Regions from separate parts of the Homo sapiens genome. Here region 1 is linked to region 2. The links are contacts of gene promoters, found by promoter capture Hi-C in human tissues and cell types (Jung and others, 2019). All regions are on one chromosome and are shown on one strand. Each heading gives the region's core, a stretch centred on a gene start or on the middle of the fragment in contact. The rest is flanking DNA. Distances are from core to core; before and after follow the strand shown.

Evidence for each region. Contacts are between HindIII fragments. The study calls those that stand out against the background at their distance.
Region 1: a fragment that was not itself captured here is called in contact with the fragment with the promoter of CLDN8 in region 2 in 4 of the 25 tissues and cell types used here (heart left ventricle, liver, mesendoderm cells and 1 more).

Annotation. Positions count from the first base shown.
Region 1 is chr21:30,042,359-30,046,620 of GRCh38, forward strand. No RefSeq gene overlaps it. Among named protein-coding and RNA genes, the nearest start is that of GRIK1, 100 kb to the left of the region's middle. The HindIII fragment of the contact is 6,828 bases long and covers 1-4,262 here.
Region 2 is chr21:30,213,710-30,217,602 of GRCh38, forward strand. CLDN8 (claudin 8) reads right to left here and starts at 2,388. Exons shown (of 1, transcript NM_199328.3): 1 at 297-2,388. The coding sequence starts at 2,216. The coding sequence ends at 1,539. The HindIII fragment of the contact is 13,225 bases long and covers 1-3,785 here.

The DNA of each region.
Region 1 (4,262 bases), core at 1,353-3,852, 170 kb before region 2:
CCAATTTGAATTCATTGAATGGATAGATTAATATTTTTCATCAAAGTTGGGATGTTTTTGGTCATTATTTCTTTAAATATTCTTTGTGTCCCTTGTTTGCTCTCTGTTTCCCTTCTGAAATTTCTATTTCTATTATGCATATTTTGGTAAAATTGATGGGGTTTCACAGCTCTCAAAAGGTCTTTTCATTTTTCTTCATTCTTTTTTTTCTGTACCTCCCACCAGACAATTTCAACTGACATATGTTCACTTTTGTTGATTCTTTGCTGGCTCACATATGTTGTTGAGACCCTTCAATGAATTTTCCATTTCCTTTATTGTACTTTTCAACTCAAGAATTTCTATTCAGTTCTTTTTTATATTTTGCCTTTTTATTGATATTCTCTTTTTCGTGAGACATTATGCTCATACATTCCTTTAATTCTTTAGGTGCAGTTTTTGGAACATGTACTATCTGATTTAAAGATTTTATTTATCAATTTCAGAAGCTGGACTTCTTCAAGTTAGTTTCTATTATCTGTTTTTTAAAACTCATTTATGGACTATAGTTTCCTGGGGTTTTTTCGCCAGTCACATACAAGTTTTTATCATGTTAAAAGCTGAACATTTTTAATATTATAAAATGATAACACTAGAAATCGAATTTTTCTCCCTACCCAAGGTTGTCTGTTGTTGCTGCTTGTTTGTTTAGTCATTTTCCAGGACTAATTCTATAAAGTCTGTATTCCTTGTCATGTGCAGCCCCTGAGGTCTCTGCTCAGCATAGAGGTCAGATAATTTTATTAGATAGAATTTTTCCAAATGCCTTGAACCAATCTGTTTACTACCCATTGCTGAGGCACCAATATGCTGACAGTGTGTTTGAACACATTTTCATCTTTATCAGTTTTCAATTTTATCTTGATTTTTACTTTCTACTTGTTCAGAGCCTCAAGATCAGCCAGAGGTGGGAGATTAATGCACATGATTTCCTGGGCACCTGTGCATGGGCTTTGAGATTTCCAGGAATACAGAGAATCTTTGTCCAGCCTCTTTGCCCAGTTGGCATCACTGCATTAGGCAGCTGCAATGTTAAGCAATTGCTGATGGATTTTTTTTTTAAACAAATTCCCTCAGATAAAACTTTTCTCACTGAACAAGCTCAGGTCAAGTATAGACCAACTCCATGAATGCAACCTTTGCAAAAAGCGTGAAAATAGTGTTGATTTTCTGGAGATAGGGCTTTTGGGAGCTTCAAGCTCATTCTAACTCGCACTCACCCTGTTACTGTTATTTTTCCTAGCTACCATGATTGTGAGGATTCTGGTTTTTAGGGCTTTCATGGAATTAGGAAAAGAGGAATAGAGCAAGTGCAAACCTCACAGAGCTCATTGTTATTTATAACATTAAGCTGTTTTTCTTGAATAAAGCTGCTCATAGTGTTGCAAACATTTGGATAATTTCCACAGCTCCCAAATACTTGATTTTGATAAAGTTTTATAGTGACCTTTTTGCTTTTATGCAGTGGATTTTTGGAGTTCCTTGTATGTCTACCAACTCTTTAGTTCCTTGTATTTATCGCTTTTCATTGACCATATTCAGCTCACTTAATCGAATAAGCATAGCTGCTTCATTAATTAGGGTTCAGTGGTTCTTGGAATCTATACATATTTCCACTGTGATGCCATAATAGCTTTAGTTTCTTATTTTTTACGTTATTCATTGAGCTCATACCAACTATCCTTACCTTTCCTAGTAATATCCAAAAATGGCATGGTCTTCTTGGGAACAAGACAAACTCCCAGTTGTCTTAAATTCACCTTTATTTTGACTTCTCTATTAGCAGTTACATTTTGTTATGTAAGCTGCATTTCATATATATGCTTGACAATTCACACTGCAGGGAGAGCTTCATTATTTTTCCATTTCCATAGAAATGGCCATCACCACTAATTTACAAAGGAAAATACTCTCCAGCCTTATTTATTATTGACAGTGGTTAATCAGGAGTAAACTAATTTTTGAACCAGTAGCCAAAGGCTTATGTGACATCATAATCTTGAAGTAAAGTGCAAATAATGTAGTTTATAGTGTTTATTATAAACCAGTATGCTTTTTTGCCCCTTTTCCTTAAATTGACCATTATAGAAGTTGCAAACCTTCTTGCTATTTTTCAGTAGTTGCCTAAAATAAACATCCCCCATCCTTCTTGTTTTCCCTCTCTCTTTTGTCTCAGCATTCTTTGTTTACTTTCCCAATAATATTTTAACCTAAGAGTACTAAGTCACTAATTTCAATAGCTGCAGTGCTGCTTTATTCCACAAGAGGGCACTCAAATGGCTTTCTTTCTGTGATATTCTAATTTCCCACTTTTTTCATATTGTTTGTTTTCCACAGTGGACTTTGAGGACAGATCTATCCCAGAGTCCTCCACTAAAACCAAGAAGATACATATATACTTATAAATGTAGTTAATTTCTTGGAAACATTGAAGATTTATATGTTCTAGAAATCAGAAGGTGAAAAGGAAGAGATTGAGATAGACCAGTGTTTTATCCATGACAATTCCACCTGCTTTCTCAGGGAAGGCTTTGGACTGCTAGCAGACATGACTCCTGAAAAGAAGGCGAAGCACCTGGAATATCTCATATGCCTATTCGATCATTTCCAAACTAAATGAAGCAAGTAAAACTTTTAAAAAAACAAAGCTTAGGCCGGGAGTGGTGGCTCATACCTAATCCAGCATTTTGAGAGGCCAAGGCATGAGGATCACTTGAGACCAGGAGCTCGAGACCAGACTGGGCAACATGGTGAGATCCCCTCTCTATTAAAAATCATCATCATCATCATCATCATTAAACTAGAAAAAAATAAAACTGAAAAAAAAATTCAAATAGGTGAATGCTTGAGATGACTGTACAGAGATGATAAATAACAATACCTGAGTTTTGTCAGAATAACAGGTAGATAACATATTAAGAAAAGATTTGATTTGCTGGAATTAAGATGGCAGAAAAAAATGGACACATTGTTTTTATTATGTAAAATATTACAGTATACAGCTACTACTAGAAAGTAGATGAGCAAACCTTAATCCAACTAGAGATGATTAAAATAGTTTTGTTTTTCTATAAATGTAGCCTGATGTGAGGGGGTAAGAAATGGAGTAGGGAAGTGAGTATTGAAAGGATGAGACATGTACTCTTCAGTCATCTTAGAAACTCTATGTATTTTTCTGACTTTATGAGAATTTTCCTGGCCTGCCTGGTAAGAGAACAAACATTATAAATGTCAAATCAGGCAATATTCTAATTTGAAGATAACCAGGATTGATTATAGAAGAAGAATGCCTATTTTTTTTTTTTAGCGAATATTGCAGAGTAGAAGTAAACTCTGGCACAGAATTGCCTTCGTAGCTTTTATATTACACCCAAAGAATTTTGGTGGAAGCCACTATCCCTTAATTTTGAATGGATTCTGATAATACCAGAATCTATGACTATTTGATAACTCTCTAACTACTAGGAGCAAAGAGCTATATCATCATCTTGCAAGATTATCCTGCAAAGCAAATGTAATATTAAAATTTTGCTTATTAGATGTAATTTTGGGTGTCTTTTCCTTTCATTTTATGCCTTTATCTTGGTCCATAACGATTGGATGGTAGCTTTCTAAAACAGCTATTTTAATCACTATCATTGATGCTTCTTGAGCAACCAGCTAGTATGTTAATAAAGAAGATCATTTTCCTAAATAGAGCCAATGAGTGAAAGGTGAAAATTATCTATGGCTGAGTGAGTTAGAAATCACTATCATTTGATAGATTGCCTTTGGACATTTTGTTTTTGTAAGTCTTTTTGAAAAATGTAATATCACTTTGGGGCAATGGAATTGATAGTTTTAATAAAACTATTAAAGACTACTTATGTCTTTATATACATTTCTAAACGGAAAAATAAGAAACATTTAACTGCTTTGTGAATAATATTGACTTATAGTTTTTTGAATATGTAGGAAAAAAGTGAAGAAAGAGTACATATTTGTTTTACCACATATTTTTTTTACTGAGCATCCGAAAGACCTGTTCCACATCTGTTATTTTTCAGTCATCTGTGCTTCCCATTTGAGTTTTCCTAGCAGCATCTGGAGGGGTAGGGAGAATCAAAGTGGTCTCCTTGGTAGCTGATCATCCTGCTATTGCAGGTTGGCAAATTCTCTGCATCAAGCCAAAACACAAAAACCAATTATGAAGTCTGCAGATATTTTATGTCCAGCTGTTTGAA
Region 2 (3,893 bases), core at 1,138-3,637:
ATACATAATATTTATAACATATAGATTTGCTTGAATTTATAGTACTATCTTAAATTATAAATATATTATCTGCATTGAATATTGGTATAGGGATCCAATGATTATAAGGTATATTGTTGTTAAATAACATAAATAACATAGAGTACTTTATATTTTCAAAAATTAATGCACTGTTTGTCTTTACAAGGCAAATCTTGACATTCTTTCTCAATTTGGAGAATAAAAAATTATCAGGCTTTTCAACATTCTTCTACAAGTTAATAAAACAGAAACAAAAGGAGACTTGTGAAAGAATGTCAAATAATTAGAAAAATGTACAATTTATTAATATAAATGTATAAAGCAAATAGAACACATTCATTTAAGCTAGACAGACGTCGACACAAACTTTCAAATTGGATTGTCAGTTTCATCAAATTTGGAATAAACAGAAAAATACAGTATTTACAGATTTTAGTAAAACTAAACAGAAATGGTACAAGAAGGAAATTTATTTTTCACAGAACAAAAATGACAATTTTGACTCAGGTACCCACATAGGAGCAGGTGAAGTTCTCAAAGGACAACTTTTTTTGTTGTTGTTTTTTTGGTAAGCAAATGAAAACCAAGACATATTTTTCTGCTCTTTTATTTATATTGATGAAACCTCAAAGTCTGTACTCAAATACTTATTAAAATATATCCATACATATATGATTTCTTGTCAAAATGCATCATTCTTCTTCAAATACAAAAACAAAAATATTTTCACTTTCCTAAAACCATCACTTTTTCTTAGATCACACTTTTATCTTTCTTCTGAGTATAGCCCTGGAAAAGCAGTTTGAATGCAAAGCCCCTTGACAAAATATCTGCTTTTTAAAAATGTTAATTTAATACACAAGAAAAAAAAAGCCTCTGGGAGAAGAGGATAAAGAAGTTAGGATTTCTAACTCCTAGGCTAAAAAACAGCATATCAGAAAGCCATTCAATTTCCTTTACAATGCTGATTAAAGCCTTCATTTTAATCTTCATTATAAATGGAGGACATTAATCCCTAAGCTGTTTTTAAACAATTAATAGTAACCTTCTTCAACCCTATCCATGATTTCCCTGAAAAGCAATAGTTGAGTTCTATTTATTCAGTGTAATGGACTGGCATTTCATTTTAAATAAAACCATATAAGCATGTCTCTATGTGAGATATAAATGTTACACTCATCTATGTACATAATGCTATGTCGTGGAGAAATTACAGTAGTAAAATAATGCAGTCTTTAGCAATGTCATTTTGAAGTAAATGATAAAAAGAGTAGATGCTTGAACCACCTTAGAAAACAAATTACTATACTTTCTAGAACAATCAAAGCATTGGGTTTAATATCTCATTCTGCTGAAATAGCTTATAGAATCATAAATAGCTGATGCACAGTTCCTGTAATTAAGATTAGGCAGTTAAGAACAGTAAATCAAAGTTTCTTTGGGGTCCATTTTGAGAAAGTAATATAGATTTTTGTCATTTGCATGGCTTTATAGTAAAGTTAAAAAAACATACACAACTACACATACTGACTTCTGGAGTAGACGCTCGGTGACTTCTTTCCGGTGTGATAACTTTTTTGGGTTGTGCGATGGGAAGGTATCGAGTATCTGTAGCTACTGCTCTTTTCGTTGCAACAAAAAACGCAGCAGAACAGAGCTCCTCCAACAATCAGCACCAGTGCCGTGGTCCATCCTAAGTAGAGAGCTTCTCCAAGCTCACGTTTTTGGGCAACATTCACTATTGAGTTATAGAAATCTCTGATGATGGCATTGGCAACCCAGCTCACAGGGATGAGCACCACCATGCCCGTGATGATGAAGATGATTCCAGCCGTCAGCAGAATGTGAGCCTTCACCTTCTCATTGTCCCCCGTGCACCTGGTGCATTTCATGCCAAGGATGGCCATCATGAAAGCCAAGAAGGACATCACGGAAGCAGCACACATCAGTCCTCTGGCTGCCTGTAGGTCCGGAGAAAGAGCCAGCAGGGAATCATAGATTTTGCACTGCATCCTGATGTTAGCCTGCCTCACGCAATTCATCCACAGTCCTTCCCAGAAGTTTTCAAAAACCACGATGTTGTTTTCAATGAAGGCCGACACTCTCCACTGAGGCATGACAGTGACAGCCACTGTGCCCACCATTCCAACACCACCAAGAAACAGCCCAGCGATTTCTAAGGCATGGGTTGCCATTATCCTCTGGGATGAGTTTTAGCCAGCTGGACTCCGGAACTGCTACTTCTGCTTTGAAGCAGGGTTCTCTGTGCCACAGAAGAGAACAGTTTTTCCTGTAGTAATGAACTCGGAACCCAGTGGTTTTTCAAATAAGAGCTGCTTTGCTACTTCTGGCCAGATAGTATCCAGTGCTGGCTGGCTGAGATGGCCCTGCTATTGGCTGCAACAGGTAAACTTACAAATCAGGTGTGGCAACTTTCTCAGCCAATAAAAGGTGGATGGTAATCCAGGTGTGTCTAAACCAACACTTGGGTACTTGGAACAGCTAGACCTGCACATAAACATTCTTTATACTTCTCGGTCTTCCAAGAAGACAGCAGTATGTTTACCTGTAGGCATAGTTATAAGTGGTTGCATAAGCATCAAGAAATGAGCCGATCCCTTGTAATGTGAAAGGTGCACCTTGTACAGGCAATTCTGAAACTCTTAATAAGAGCTGCTGGGACCAAGGGATAAAATAAATTATCTGCCGAAGAATTCTGCAACGCTGTTGAAATGCCAAAGTGAAACGAGAGTAGGGGATTGAAAGATTGCTTTTACCTGGGAAGCCACATTCTTTGGGACACATGTGATCCAAGTGATTGATTTAATTTTTCTACAACTTCAAAGCAAGCTCTACTGTGGTGAAATCAGGGAACAGATCATGCCAGAGGACAAAATAAGCTAAAGTAATTAAATACACAAGGCTGTCCTTCTCCTTGGCACTGAAAACATATTGGAGTTCTTTAAGCCAGAAAAAATACTCATTGACACTTTTCTGATAATCTTCACTTATAAAAACATTTTTTGCCAAAATAAAAATCACCAGATGATTATCTTATGTATCCAGCACTATAGCATTAAAATAAGCTTATGAGCTTATTTTGTGGTGTTATTCTTGCTGCTTTGAATTCCTGGGCTGAAGGAACTAGAATTCTGAAGATGACACAAGACCCTTGGGCCTATACAAATGGCTGATATTTCAAAATAAGATATTTACAAGACAAGGGAACTATATTTACCAAACTGTATTATATTAGGTATTAACCAAATATGTTTTCCTACCTTTTAATATTATGTCTGCAGTAGGACATAGAAACCCCTAAACGCAAGACAATTTGAACTTTCTTCTCAAAATAATGATGCTCTAACAGTAGTGCTATACTAAGCATAAATGTTTATCTGAGAAAATTCGACTAGCAATTTTCTTCTGGAGATCACCTTAAGCTCTCTGTCTGATCTTTCCAAAGTTTAAGCTGCCACTTCATTTTCTTTTCTTCTTAACATCATAAAAAATGATTTTCTCTTTACAGTTTTACTTTCTCTCTGTTTCATTGGACTACCTTAAATCCAAATATGGGAGAAAATCGTTTCTGCTCACTGATTAAACTTTGAGAGTTTCATGGTTCAAAAAATCTGAGTCATTTGTGGATATTATTAAAACAAAAACTATATGGTAGAAAGGGCAAAAGGAGGATCAAGTAGACTGTCTTCTAAAAAAGAGGCAGGACAGACGCACAGTAGTATGAGTTGTTATAATTTTGTTAAACAGACGTTATAAACCTTATAAAAAGTTAAAACTTAATATTTACAGAAATATTCTCATTTGTTGACCTGTGAGGTGCCAAACTTCAGGGTGTCCCTTAGGCTGATGCA